Regions from separate parts of the Homo sapiens genome. Here region 1 is linked to region 2. Evidence: promoter capture Hi-C in human tissues and cell types (Jung and others, 2019). All regions are on one chromosome and are shown on one strand. The core of a region is centred on a gene start or on the middle of the fragment in contact, and the rest is flanking DNA. Distances in the headings are between cores, read along the strand shown.

Region 1 (7,439 bases), core at 1,876-4,375, 320 kb after region 2:
CTCAGCTTTTAATCTACTAGTTTTTAGAAAATCTTAAGCCTCTTTCTATAAATTGGTAGTTGGTTCTAGAGGTTACAGAATCCTTAGTGGTTTTGTATTCTTCCATTAGGAGACACACACAAATAACATGTGGTTGTGCTTCTTTTAGTGATGCTGGCAGACACTGGTGCTCATAGCCTAAAACTGTCAGCTCAATACAAGATGCAAAAACAATGATCTAATTTTACAATTCTTTATAAAGTAGTATACTTCCATAAATAGGAACTTCCCCTATTTGGCAATTCAACAGTACAGTTCATATAGAAAAAATATGATACATGCTTGTTCCTAAGGTGAGGTAGGTATCATTGTGAATTCACAGATTTAAATCCAATTTGATGTGATTCAACCCTCGTCGTTATTATTATTAATTGATGCATAAAACTGTCCCATGTTTGGCCTATGGAACCCTCTTCAATTTGGCTTCTAAATCCTTTTGCTACAACCCTAAGTAGTTCTTTACTTCTTTGTTATCTAGTTTGAAAAAATATTCCAAGCTCTTCTTTTAAGTATGCTGTCTGGATAAACTATTTCAAGATCACAATCCAGGCAGTAGAGCCACTCATTGCTATGGGGTTGTTCACTGTTTTTATGTCTTTTCAGTGGACAGAACCGCCTAGAAGTATGTATTTTTCACTCCAAAGCTAAAACACCTCATAACTTATTACTGATATTCCCAATTCAAACTGAGTACCCTTGTGGATTTTACGGAACATCTATTTTACGTTTTTATTTCCTCCTACAAGAATCCTGATTCTCAAGCATACAAAGTATAGAATATCATATTTAATTGCTTTATTCCATATTATGCACAAGTTTCAGAATAGCAATGTCAGTATTTCACCAGTGACCAAAATGTTTTGTTTTTTTTGGACATGTTCTCCCCATCTTCCCACTTTAAAAAAGTTATACTATGTCCAGATTGTGAGATCATATAACTATCACATGCTAACTCTCTTTTAACCCTCATTTCTTCTTAGCTCTACAATTAACCATACATTTAGTATTTACCACCATTCCTTTTGTAATCTTTCTGGTTAGTTTGTCAGAAGCTTGTTCTTCAGTAGTTCTCAGGAAAAGTCTTGGGAACGATATTCCGAAGTTTTTTGTTTTTTTTTTTTTTGAGGCATTTTATTTGTAAATATGTATTGCATCCCTAGAAACAAAATCCAAGGATTTTCCCTCCTGTGTGTTTTCGTCTTGCTTCTTCATGGTCCATGATACCAGCTAAGGCTGTCAATATGACGAAGTCAAATGGTTGGGATAGAAGCAGATTGTTCTGCCGTTTTTCTAGATCTTTGAGTTGCAAATCAAAGCTGGGGCTCTACACTTGTTTAGCCTGCCTGTGAGGTTCACAATTTTCCCAGCTCTGTTATCATCAATGATTTCAAATTTGCCAATGTAACGATGCTTCATCATCACAGCTAGAAGTTGGACAATGACTTTGGAGCATGGCCTAGTAAGAACCGGCGTTTCCCTCTCTTTTCGGCATTGGTGATACTCTTGAGAGCAACAGGTAGGATGTTCACACACACCATTGTGGCAGCGCGAAACAATGCCGGAAAGAGCAATATTCCAAGTACTTACACATTGATGTTTGTCTGTGATCTTTATAACTGAACATTAGCTTGACAAAGCACAAAATCTTTGGCTCACATTTTCTTTATTGTAATTGTTACTCCATTTACTTGTTATAAAGCTTTGCTGTCACAGTCTATCTGGTTTTCTTTCTCTTAACAACTCAGTCTTTATGCCTGAATGGCCAAAGGATATCTTTCTTTTTTTGTTCAAGTCTAGTATTTTGTAAGAGTATGTCTTAGTCATCCTGGCTATCCTTTCAATTTGTAGATTCAAATCTAAATGTATTTCAGAAAAATGTTCCTGAATTATACTTTTCAGTATTTTTTTTTTTTTTGAGACGGAGTCTCACTCTGTCCCCAGGCTGGAGTGCAGTGGCGCGATCTCAGCTCACTGCAAGCTCCACCTCCCGGGTTCACGCCATTCTCCTGCCTCACAGCCTCCCGAGTAGCTAGGACTACAGGCGCCCGCCACCATGCCTGGCTAATTTTTTGTATTTTTAGTAGAGACAGGGTTTCAACATGTTAGTCAGGATGGTCTCGATCTCCTGACCTCGTGATCTGCCCCCCTCGGCCTCCCAAACTGCTGGGATTACAGGTGTGAGCCACCGTACCCGGCCACTTGTCAGTATTTAAGCTATTCCTTTATTTTGGTTTTCTTTCTGGGGGCGGGGTGGGAAGATCCTATTATATATCTATATTAGATCTTTTCTGCCAAACTTTTTTTTCCCAGTTTTAATTTTTTACCTATGTATTTCTCCTTCATTTAAAAAATTTTCCTTCGCTGTCTAATTCTTGAAAAATATTATTTATTCTCTTTATTCTTCAGTATTTTTCTGAAATTTTTTATTATTACTTCTTTTCAAGAGTTCTAGCCCCTTATTTTGAGTTTTCCCAGATGATTTTTTTTTTTAAACCAACTTCTTAGGATTTTTTTTTTTTTTTTTCTGAGACCAAGTTTCATACTCTTGTTGCCCAGGCCGGAGTGCAATGGTGCGATCTTGGCTCACTGCAACCTCTGCCTCCCGGGTTTACGTTCTTTAATGTCCTGGTTATCTTCTCCCTACCGCTTTTATCTGAACCTTTCCTTTCGTCTCTACTAACTTGTCTCTCTGCAGCTCAATCTGGATTATATTTCCAACAGTTTGTCCTCAGTGACGGGCTTTGTTCTGGAAGGGTATAGTGGCCAGCTAGCATGAACAACGATAGAACCCTGTGCTGGTTACCGCTTCTTAGTCACAAAGTCATCCCTTCTGCCTGTTGAGCAAAAATGTGCCTGGACACTTTAAAACTTTTCCTTTGACAGCTGGCATGTTAACTTCTGCCAGCGGAGAACAATGGAGAGATTTTTACTTCCTGTTCCTGTGTGTTTTTCAGCAGGCTCCCACAGCACCCAGTTCCTCAAAGCCAGGTTCTGACATATAAGTGAGCTCAGAGACCAGCAGCTTCCCTCAGCACCTCATCTGAGTAGTTTTGTAGCAGAGTGACACCTCTCATGAAAAGCCTTTCAGCACGCTTCCCCAGAGAAGCACATCAGCAATTACTCTGCCATTCAGTGAGCCACAACTGAGCCCTTTCTAACCAGGTATGAATCTCAGCCCTGGGGTGGTGGTAGGGAAATGGGGGACTCATTCTTGGACACACTGTCTTAGCCCTAAGGGTAGTGGCTGCTCCTTGTATGTATGCATATATGTCTGTGTGTATGTTTTTTTCTTTTTTTTTGAGACAGGGTCTCACTCTGTTACCCAGGGTGGAATGAAGTGGTGCCATCTGGGCTCACTGCAGCTACGACCTGCCAGACTCAAGCAATCCTCCCACCTCAGCCCCCTGAGTAGCTGGGACTACCAGGTACCCACCACGTCCAGCTAATTTTTAAATTTTTTGTAGAGACAAAAGTTTCACCACGTTGCCCAGGCTGGTCTCAAACTCCTGGACTCAAGCAATCGCCCTGCCTCGACCTCCCAAAGTGCTGCAATCACAGGCGTGAGCCACTGAACTGTGACTACGTGCTATTTCTATTTTCTTTAAAGATCTTTTTACTTTGTACTAGTCAATCCTTCATTACTCCAATCTTGCTATAGTTAAATTCCTTATATTAACTTTCTCTATTCAAACTACTGTGTGGTTTGAACTCTTGACTGGTCCAGTCAGATCCTTCATACCTTATCCCAGAGCCCCTGTATTTACTTGTTATTCCATTACGGAAAACTACTCCCGATTAACTGCTGCTCTTCTCAAATATGCCCTACGAGCTTTCCAGAAAAACGGTTGGCTCTGTTAGCATTCTTTATGCTGTCAGGTGCTCTGCTGCTTCCCTTCAGTTCCCCCTGCACAAATGCTAGTATTAACCAAGCCTCTTATATAGATTTTGGTGGTTTGTCCCTATCCCTTTACGGGTATGTGGGGAAATATCATTTTGCTTTGACGTAGATGGCATCTGTAGATTTTGTTGGTTCCTCAACTCTACTTGCTTTGTCTTATTTTTAACTTTACTTTAAAATAATTTCAGGGCTGAGCACAGTGGCTCACGCCTGTAATCCCAGCACTTTGGGAGGCTGAGGCAGGCGGATCACTTGAGGTCAGGAGTTTGAGACCAGCCTGACCAACATGGCGAAATCCCGCCTCTACTAAAAATACAAAAATTAGCTGGGCGTAGGGGTGCGCATGCCTGTAATCCCAGCTACTTGGGAGGCTGAGGCAGGAGAATGGCTTGAACCCACGAGGCGCAGGTTGCAGTGAGCCAAGATCGCGCCATTGCACTCCAGCCTGAGACACAAGAGTGAATCTCTGTCTCAAATAATTTTGTGCAGGAAACAAAAGTTTTCACTGCGACCTGCTGCATGAGATCAGGTATGGAATTTTCTACTTGTGGCATGACATCCACACTCAAAAAGTTTTAGACTGCAGATGCTCAACCTGTATTAATATTTCACATTTGCTTCCCCATTCTTTCTCCTGAACCATGTGCAAGTTGCAGGACTTGATGCCACTTACCCTTAAATATGTATTTCCTTAAAAGGATATCTTTTACATAATCAGAGTAATTATTAACACTTATACATACTATTATCTAATCTACAACACTTATTCAAATTGTCCCACTGATGTTTTAGCAAAAGAAAATTTTTGCAAAATGGTTTTGCCTCACCCAGTAGTTATTTAATCTAGGTTTACATGTTGTTTTTAGTTGTCATATCTCTAGTTCTTTAATCTGGAGCTTTTTTTTTTTTCATGGCCTTAACATTTTTGAAGACTACAGGCCAGTTATTTTGCAATTCTTTTGTAGAATCCTCAATTTGGGCTTGTCTGAGGTCTCCTATGATTAGATCCAGGCAATGCATTTCTGGAAGGAATGTTACAGAGGTGATGGTGCATATTTCTCAGTGCCATCATATCAGGAGGTTTAAATCTGTTTCACTACTGGTAATTTTAATATTTTTTAATACTAAAATTTTCATACAGTAAAATGTACACATATAAAATATACTCAATTCTATGAGTTTTTAAAATGCTAATACCTCCCTAACTTCTTTGAAGATTATTAACACTTCCATCAACCAGAAAGTTCCCTTCATACCCTTTCCCAGTTAATCCCCACTGTGCACAGGCAACCATAAAACCATTCTGATTTTCTTTCCCATCATAGATTATTTGGCTGTTCTGGAATTTCATATATAGTTTTTCTACAGAGTCCTTAGGATTTTCATTTCACCTGCAAACACAAAGTTTTATTTCCTCTTGTTAAACTGTATACATTTCTTTTTCTTGCCTTATTGTACTTGTTAGGACCTCTAATACAATGATAAATACAAGTGATAAGAGTAAACATATTAATATTGCTCCCAATATTAAAGGGAGCTCTGCTTTTACTGGATAATTGGGGAAGATGAAAAAGCTGTAGCCAATACTGCTGGCATCCTCTCAGAGTCCCTTCTCTCCACCAATTTCTTACTCCTCAGGTTTCAAACACATCCAAGTCTCCTAATCCTAGAACACTCTACCCTCACACCTGGCTCTTTATTCTCCAAAGAGTAGTGTATCATTCATCACCAACTTACTCTCTAACCCTTACAACCACACTTGTCAATTTTGAAAGGCCATCCCAAACTGCCAGAGTCAAAGCTCTCTCCCACACTTAGTAACAGCTACCATTTAAAAATCTGTGTTCCTGTCTATATCATGTACTTCAAAAAAGCAAAAAACAAAAACCTATCTGTCAAGGTCTGTGCTGAGTGGTTCACAAACATTCTCTAACAACTCAGGGACAATTAGGACTATTTAACTTGCCCAGGTAACAATATAGGACTGTTAATTACACGAAACCAATACGATTTTAAAATAATTTTCTAATTATACATACATATGGTATAGAAAAAAATAATACAGAAAATCTACTGCAAACAATCAGGTCCCAAAACATCTTCAATTTGTGATTTTTATCTACCTACTTTTTCTTGGTATACTTGTTCCTTCTTCAGCTAACCACTTCTCAGTCTCCCTTACTGCTAATCCACAGGTTCTGCTCTACACCTCCCTTCTTTCCAATGTATTACTCTCCTTGAGCGATTTTATTTATCCACAAACCTCAACTATTATCTCTATTTTCAAGTGCACTTCTCTAGACCTAACCCATCTCTTTGGCATCAAGAATTTGTTTTCTCCAACCAATTCTGCTCCTTCTGCTTTCTCTCTTCAAGTTAATTACATATTATTCATCAAGTCACTTTGGATAGAAATCTTTAGGAAAATTTGCATTACCTTTTTATGTAAAGAAAGCTCAACAGTGTACATTTAATCCAATTGGTGGCAAGTTCTTTAGCCTTTGCCTTTTTGAGCTTGGCAATGCGAGTCACAGACTTGGGACCCAGGACATTGCCTCCCCAGTGATGGCAGATCTCATCGTATCTGTCATTGTAATTGATCCTGATAGCTTCCACCAGCTTAGACAAACCTCCTTTGTCTTCCAAGTTAACCTGTGTGAAGGCAACCAGTGGTGCAGGTCTTTCTGTGGAGTAGACATCCCACTCTTGACTTCCCCTTGATAATGCAGTAAGGGACCCCCATTTTACGACACAGGGCAGGTAGGAAGACAACCAGCTTGATGGGATCCATGTCATATGCAATCACCACTAGCTGAGTCTTCGTGTTCTCCACCAAGGTGGTGAAGTGCTGACTCCTGCTTGAAAGACAGGTGGTCTCTTACTGGGGACATCCCCTTTGCTGGCAGCTTTCTTCTCAGCCTGGGCCAATAGCCTCTGCTTCTTTCTCTTGCTTTGCCTCTGATCTGTACTTGTGGGCCAGCTTAAGTAGCTGAGTAGCTGTTTGGCAGCGCAAGGCCTGGATGAACTGGTTAATCGCAGGAGGCATTTTCAGCTGCATATAGAGGATGGCTCTCTGCTGCTGCAACCTGATATAGCAGGGCCATTTCACAAAGCAGGTGAGGTCTCTTTTGGGCTGGGTGTCCTGTCCAATGCCAAAATTCTTAGGCCTTTTCTTAAATAGCGGATTCACCACTTTCTTGGCTCTGCTTCTTGACGACAGCAGGGGCCAGAGCCAACTTCTTCCCCTTGCCCTTCTTTCCTTTCGGCATCTTGGGTGGCGGGAGGAGAAGAAATCTTATTTTTGACTCTTCCTTCTCTAATTAACAATACCTCAGTTCCAATCCTTTAAGTTTAGTCTCCAAAACAAGGTCTTTTACAAACTGAATTTCCATTAACAGAAAAATGGATAAATAAATCAAGTGTATTCACACAATATAATATTTGCTATAGAGTAGTAAAAAAGATCTAGAGCAAGGTTTGTCAGCCATGACACTACTAACAT
Region 2 (7,392 bases), core at 3,245-5,744:
AGAAACAATGCTAATGACTGGTTTGCTGTTAATAAATATGTGGGTAAATCTCTGTTCGGGGCTCTCAGCTCTGAAGACTGTGAGACCCCTGATTTCCCACTTCACACCTCTATATTTCTGTGTGTGTGTCTTTAATTCCTCTAGCGCCGCTGGGTTAGGGTCTCCCCGACCGAGCTGGTCTCGGCAAGAAAGAACTAAAAAGCTAAGGGAATACCAAAACAACCAAATGGATTCTTGGTTTGGGAACAAAATCGTAGCATGAGTCATCCCCATTCCTGGGCCATCTCCTAATAATATGCCCAGGACTAATGTTCTTACCCTGCCTAATAAACTTTTTTCAAGGATTTTTAACTGACAGGATCATGGCCATTTCACAGACAACTACCCCAAAACATCTACAGATGGCATTACTCCTATAGTCAATCCGAAACCAGAAAACTCTCCATCCCCGTCAAAAGGAAGTAGCCAGAAAGAACATGCCGCCCCTCTTTTTTTTTTTTTTTTTTTTGGGGGGGACAGAGTCTAACTCTGTCACCCAGGCTAGAGTGCAGTAGCATGATCTCTGCTCACTACAACCTGCGCCTACTGGGTTCAAGTGATTCTCATGTCTCAGCCTTCCAAGTAGCTGGGATTACAGGCATGCGCCCACCACACCTGGCTAATTTCTGTATTTTAGTAGAGACGGGGTTTCCACTGTGCTGGCCAGGCTGGTCTCAAACTCCTGACCTCAGATGATCCACCCACCTCAACCTCCCAAAGTGCTGGGATTACAGGCATGAACCACCGTACCCGGCCCTTTTTTTTTTTTTTCTTTTTTTGAGATGGAGCTTCGCTCTTGTTGCCCAGGCTAGAGTGCAATGGTGCGATCTCGGCTCACTGCAACCTCCGCCTCCTGGGTTCAAGCAATTCTCCTGCCTCAGCCTCTCAGCTTGCTGGCATTACAGGCGTGCACCACCATGCCTGGCTAATTTTTCTTTTTCTGAGACGGAGTCTCGCCCTGTCGCCCAGGCTGGTGTGCAGTGGCTCAGTCTCGGCTCACTGCAAGCTCCGCCTCCTGGGTTCACGCCATTCTCCTGCCTCAGCCTCCCGAGTAGCTGGGACTACAGGTGCCCGCCACCACGCCCAGCTAATTTTTTGTATTTTTAGTAGAGACGGGGTTTCACCGTGTTAGCCAGGATGGTCTCGATCTCCTGACCTCGTGATCCACCCGCCTCGGCCTCCCAAAGTGCTGGGATTACAGGCGTGAGCCACCGCGCCTGGCCTAATTTTGTATTTTTTTTAGCAGAGATGGGGTTTCACCGTGTTGGTCAGGCTGGTCTTGAATACTTGACCTCAAGCTATCCACTCGCCTTGGCCTCCCAAAGTGCTGGGATTACAGGTGTGAGCCACTGCACCTGGCTGCCCCCGTCCTTTTTATCACTATAGAGTCTGGACTGACGGAGCAGGAGCACTGCCATCTTGGACAAGCACTGCCATTTTAAGTTTTGCCTTGATCAAAAACTGCCTAAATCCAAAGGGCATCAGCCTAATGGCTAAGGTCAGCATGACCATAAACCACAAATGACATCTCTGACCAGAAACGTTCCAAGCCCCTCCCCAGCCAGAGACATGCCAGCCCCAAGATAACCTCCCCTTCGGCTGGAGAGGTGTCAGCCTCAAGATAACCTCCCCTCCAACCAGAGACATTCCAACTCCACCATAAACTTCTCCCTGACACAGAAACATTCCAAGCTCTCTCCAATAAATACTGTTAGTCTGGGCCAGACGCGGTGGCTCACGCCTGTAATCCCAGCACTTTGGGAGGTGGAGGCAGGCGGATCATGAGGTCAAAAGATTGAGACCATCCTGGCCAATATGGTGAAACCCGTCTCTACTAAAAAAAATACAAAAATTAGCTGGGTATGGTGGTGCGTGCCTGTAAGTCCCAGCTACTTGGGAGGCTAGCAGGAGAATCGATTGAACCCGGGAGGCGGAGGTTGCAGTGAGCTGAGATCTCGCCACTGCACTCCAGCCTGGTGACAGAGTGAGAATCCATCTCTAAATAAATAAATAAATAAATAAATAAATAGTCTGTAAGAGAGAGCACTCCTGACTGAAATCAGCCAGAAGCCCCTCTCAGGTTTGATTTTTGAGCTGCTTTTTGTGTTTCTTTCCTCTTTCTTTAACTCTTACTGTGACTTTGAACGGAATGGGAGGCAGATTGGCCCTAAGCAGTTCCCAGCTTGACTTTTCCTTTTAGCTTAGTGATTTGGGGCCCCCAAGATTTACTTTCCTTTCTTACTACCCAGGATTCCTTGGGGTGAGCTGCTCATTGAGTAGGCTGCCTAGCCTTTGGCCCATGCCAGTGAAGCCCCTGTCCCCATCTCTCTAGTAGGCCACACAACACCTTCTGGGAGGTACCACTGGCATTGTATCATGAGATAAAATAAAACAATAACTAAATAGCCAGGCATGGTGGTGTGCACCTGTAGTCCCAAGCTACTTGGGAGACTGAGGTGGAAGGATTGCTTAAGCCCAGGAGTTGGAGCCTGCAGTGAGCTGTGATCATGCCACTACACTCCAGCCTAGGTGACAGAGTAAGACCTCATCTCTAAAAAAACTTTTTTCTTTTCTTTTTTTTTTTTTTTGAGACAGAGTTTCTCTCTTGTTGCCCAGGCTACAGTGCAATGGCATGATCTTGGCTCACTGCAACCTCCGCCTCCTGGGTTCAAGTGATTCTCCTGCCTCAGCCTCCCGAGTAGCTGGGATTACATCTAATTTTTTGTATTTTTAGTAGAGATGGGGTTTCACCATGTTGGCCAGGGTGGTCTTGAACTCCTGACCTCAGGTGATCCGCCTGCCTCAGCCTCCCAAAGTGCTGAGATTACAGGTGTGAGCCACTGTGCCCAGCTCTGAAAAACTTTTTAAAATAAATAAATATTAGAATATGTGGGAAAATAAAATTAATTAAAAAAAAAAACAGTAACTACAATAGCAACAGCTACTATTTACTGAACACTTACTCCACCTCACTTAATCACAACTCTTTGAAGTAGGTACTATTATTTCCATTTTTACAGATGGGCAAATTAAGGCTCAGAGGCGTTAAGCAACTTGCCCATACAGACAGTAAGTGTTGCTGGTGATTCAAACCCAGGTCCGTCTGGCTTTTGGAACTCATGTCCTCACATTCACTGGTCTGCAGAGTAGCACCAAGTACCTTTTACCACCCTGACCAGCTCCTGGGTACTGCCCTCCTGCCTGCAGGCCTGAACACCATGACATCCAGCTAGCCCCTGTCCCCTATGACATCCTTCTCCCTCTTGCCAATGAAACCCAGTAGATCAGGCTGCCTGACAAAAAAATTTCTTGTGATGCCTTGGACTGTGGCATTCATCCTAAATGCCTCCCTAACAGCATGGCCCATTGCTCCTCTAAGAGTCTGGCTCACACTCTTACTGAGTTTTTGCTTATGCCCTTTGCCCTTCTTGGATGCCCTTCCCTAACCCTTCAAGGGCCACTCAGTTGAAGTTCCAGAAGACTACAAATTCCTCAATCCAGTCATCTCACACAATTCTGGGTTTCAGAGCCAGAAGTGCCCCCACCACAGAAATCTCTGGCTCAATGCCAAGTCAGGAAGCTGCAAAGAGCAAGGAGGGCCTGTGTTCCAGTCCTCAAAGGATGGGGAAGGGGAATGACAGCCAGGCAGCTGTTCCTTTCAGATCCCGAACCGTCAGATTTTTCCTCCAAATCTTGCTTGGGACAAGGGGTTAAATGATGTTGACAGAAGGGTGATTGAAGAAAGAGACAGGACTGGTTGAGAGATTGCCCAACACTTTGGGAGGCTGAGGTGGAAAGATGGCTTGAGCCCAGGGGTTTAAAACCAGCTTGGGCAATATAGCAAGACCCCATTTCTAAAAAAAAAAATTATTTTTAATTAGCTGGGTGTGGTGGCGTCCGCCTGTGGTCCCAGCTATTTGTGCACTGAGGCAAGGAAAATCGCCTGAACCCAGGAGGTGGAGGCTGCAGTGAGCTGTGATTGTGCCACTCCAGCCTGGGTGACAGAGTGAGACCCTGTCTCAAAACATATAAACGTGTGTGTGTGTGTGTGTGTGTGTGTGTGTGTATTCCAGGGAACATTAAGACTTAGAGGCAAACTCCAGAACTTAAAGAAAAAACATGAAAGTGCTAAAAAATTCCGTGCTTGTGGAGAGAGAATTCCAACTCTTTCCCTGAACCCGGGCTGAGTCCCTTCGCTGTGAGGTTGGGGGGATGAGTGGGAGCCCAGTGCCTGGCGCCGAGTGAAGGCAGCCATTGTGAGTTCCTGGGCTGGGGAAGGGAGGCTCAGTGCCCAAGGATGTGACCAGGCGTGAGGCCCGGGGAAAGAGCAGCGCGGCGACCCCGCAGTATCCGAGGCGACAGGGTGTGGGGGAGGGGGTGGGGAGTCAAAGGCGGAGTCACGGGCTCCGCCCTCTTTCTCCTGCTTGGCGCGAGCACAGGCACCGCGTGGTTCTCACAACCAGCAGCTCGGCTCACTGAGACCCGGTGGTCCAGACGCTGCTCCTGGCTGGGGTGGCGCTGCAGGGAGAACCGCGAGCTCTCAGGGGTCGGCGGGTGACTTCTTTCCGGAAGAAAGCGAGGAACGCGCTCTGCGGGGTGAGCCGGACTCCCCAACTCCGGACGATCAGCCCAGGACTGAGAGCCCCGAAGTCCCCAACCACAAGTAAGCGGCCCCAGAAGGACAAGTCTAGGTCGCCGTCCAGAGCGCCATGGCCGCGCCCGCCCTTCGTTTGTGCCACATCGCCTTCCACGTGCCCGCCGGGCAGCCCCTAGCCCGGAACCTGCAGCGCCTCTTCGGCTTCCAGCCCCTGGCTTCGCGGGAGGTGGACGGCTGGCGGCAGCTAGCCCTGCGCAGCGGCGACGCGGTCTTTTTGGTGAACGAGGGCGCAGGGTCTGGAGAGCCGCTGTACGGCCTGGATCCGCGTCACGCCGTGCCCAGCGCCACAAACCTGTGCTTCGACGTGGCGGACGCCGGCGCTGCAACCCGGGAGCTGGCAGCGCTGGGCTGCAGCGTGCCTGTCCCTCCCGTTCGCGTGCGGGACGCGCAGGGTGCCGCCACTTACGCCGTGGTCAGCTCGCCTGCCGGCATCCTCAGCCTGACCTTGCTGGAGCGCGCTGGCTACCGCGGACCCTTCCTACCCGGCTTCAGGCCCGTGTCCTCTGCGCCTGGCCCCGGGTGGGTCAGCCGCGTGGACCACCTGACCTTGGCCTGCACCCCCGGCAGCTCCCCCACACTTTTGCGCTGGTTCCACGACTGCCTGGGCTTTTGCCACTTGCCGCTGAGCCCAGGTGAGGATCCCGAGCTGGGCCTCGAAATGACAGCAGGGTTTGGGCTTGGGGGACTGAGGCTTACAGCCCTGCAGGCCCAGCCGGGCAGCATTGTCCCCACTCTTGTTCTGGCTGAGTCCCTTCCGGGGGCGACGACACGACAGGACCAGGTGGAGCAGTTCCTGGCCCGGCACAAGGGGCCAGGCCTGCAGCACGTGGGGCTGTATACGCCTAACATTGTGGAGGCCACTGAGGGGGTGGCAACTGCTGGAGGCCAGTTCCTGGCTCCCCCTGGGGCATACTACCAGCAGCCAGGAAAGGAGAGGCAGATCCGAGCTGCAGGGCACGAGCCTCATCTGCTTGCTCGACAGGGGATCCTGCTAGATGGTGATAAAGGCAAGTTTCTGCTTCAGGTCTTCACCAAGTCCCTTTTTACTGAGGACACTTTCTTCCTGGAGCTGATTCAGAGGCAGGGGGCCACTGGCTTTGGTCAGGGCAACATCAGAGCTCTGTGGCAGTCCGTACAGGAGCAATCTGCCAGGAGCCAGGAAGCCTAAGGATGCCCAGGGCTGGGTGCAGCCAGCTGTCCTGCAGCTCTGGGGAGACCAGCACAGAACTGAGGAACATCTGCAGGAGGCCCAACTAGTGAAAGGCTTTGCCTCCGGGGGGCAGGTGTGACTTCCATTTCATCAGTGCCTGCCAGAAGCTGTGTCTCTCATTGGGCTCCAAAGAGGTGGGATTTTTTAAAACTAAAACATTTCTTATATACAGTCTATAATAAATATGTAAGATACAAAGAACAATAAAAGAATTACACACTAGGAAATAGAACATAACCAATACTTTCGAGTCCTCCCTGTGTCCCGCTGTGATTCTATTTCCTCCCACCCACTCCTCAAATCCTGTCATTATTAGCCCTTTGCTTTTCTGTATTGTTTCACTCCGTATGTAACATAACCCTAAATAAATTATTTCGTATTTGAGGTAGGAATTTAAAACAGAACAAATCTTCTCCTGTGCTTCCTCTCCCCCTAGGGAGCGACCACTCAGGTGGGGAGGGGCTGGGTGAGAGTTGAGCCCAACTACCTACTCCAGAGTGATGCCACCACTCCAATTAGAGCTGACCTGAGACGTAAACAGAGGGTGTTGTGTGTCAGCCACTGGCAGGTTCTCCCTGTAGCTGCCTTGCCTTTCTCCTGGGGGTTGGAGGGCAGATCAGTCTGGACAGAACACCCCCACTCCAACCCCATCTGCCCGGGGCTGGCTGGGAGTTCAGCCAGAGAAAGTCAGAACCAAGCAGAACGTCACCACTTTTCTGGGTCCCTCCCTCAGATATAAGGGGTGAGGGGGCTAGGGAGAGGGTGGAAGGCTGTCCAAAATAGCTACAAAAGGGCGGGCGTGGTGGCTCATGCCTGTAATCCAAGCACTTTAGGAGGCTGAAGTGGGAGAATCACTTGAGGCCAGAATCACCTGAGTTCGAAACCAGTCTGAGCAACATAGCGAGACCCCCATCTCAAAAAAATACAACATAAAATAACTACAAAAATAAGCACTTTACTAACAACAGGATTCTCAGGGAATGGGGGCTTTCAGAGGTGTCACTGGGCTGCACTGTTGAGGCTGTGTGCATCAGTGGAGATGTGAGACCGAAAGAAATTATCCAGGACTTGCTGGCCCATGCGGGGCTTTTTCCGACTGCACGGAGAGGACACCTGGGACCTTTTGGAACCCTGTGAAAAAATGGAAGGAGGGAGGCCTTGTAGTTGGGGGAGGGGGAGCAGAGAATCCTCTCCTTGTCCTCTCTCCCTTTCCCCGACTCTACTGATCTAGCTAGGCTTAGCCTGGAATGCTGTAGAGCTTTCATCCTGCCTCAAGTATCTGCCCCATCAATCAACCCTCCAAAAGGCTGCCTGAGGGAATCGAATTGTCCTAAAAATGCAAATCTGACTCCTCTCTCCTCCACCTAAAATGAGTCAGCAGCCTAGGGCTCACACCCTGACTGACCCAGCAGGCCCTGCTGACCTTTCCAGCTAAACCAACTGCTCACAGCTCCTTGAGCACTGCAGCCTGCACTGGGCTCCACCT

The links. Contacts are between HindIII fragments. The study calls those that stand out against the background at their distance.
Region 1: a contact is called between a fragment that was not itself captured here and the fragment with the promoter of HPDL in region 2, in 3 of the 25 tissues and cell types used here (liver, neural progenitor cells and thymus).

What each region holds. Positions count from the first base shown.
Region 1 is chr1:45,644,621-45,652,059 of GRCh38, forward strand. All of the region lies in intron 6 of GPBP1L1 (GC-rich promoter binding protein 1 like 1), which reads right to left. It also overlaps the pseudogene RPS15AP10 and the pseudogene RPL7AP16. Among named protein-coding and RNA genes, the nearest start is that of CCDC17, 24 kb to the left of the region's middle. The HindIII fragment of the contact is 8,049 bases long and covers 1-7,150 here.
Region 2 is chr1:45,322,401-45,329,792 of GRCh38, forward strand. HPDL (4-hydroxyphenylpyruvate dioxygenase like) reads left to right here and starts at 4,495. Exons shown (of 1, transcript NM_032756.4): 1 at 4,495-6,310. The coding sequence starts at 4,749. The coding sequence ends at 5,864. It overlaps MUTYH (mutY DNA glycosylase), which reads right to left. Exons shown (of 16, transcript NM_001048174.2): 16 at 6,842-7,037. The coding sequence ends at 6,906. RefSeq lists a silencer at 1,497-1,791 and enhancers at 4,527-4,576, 4,587-4,836, 5,597-5,706, 7,055-7,392. The HindIII fragment of the contact is 17,678 bases long and covers 1-7,392 here.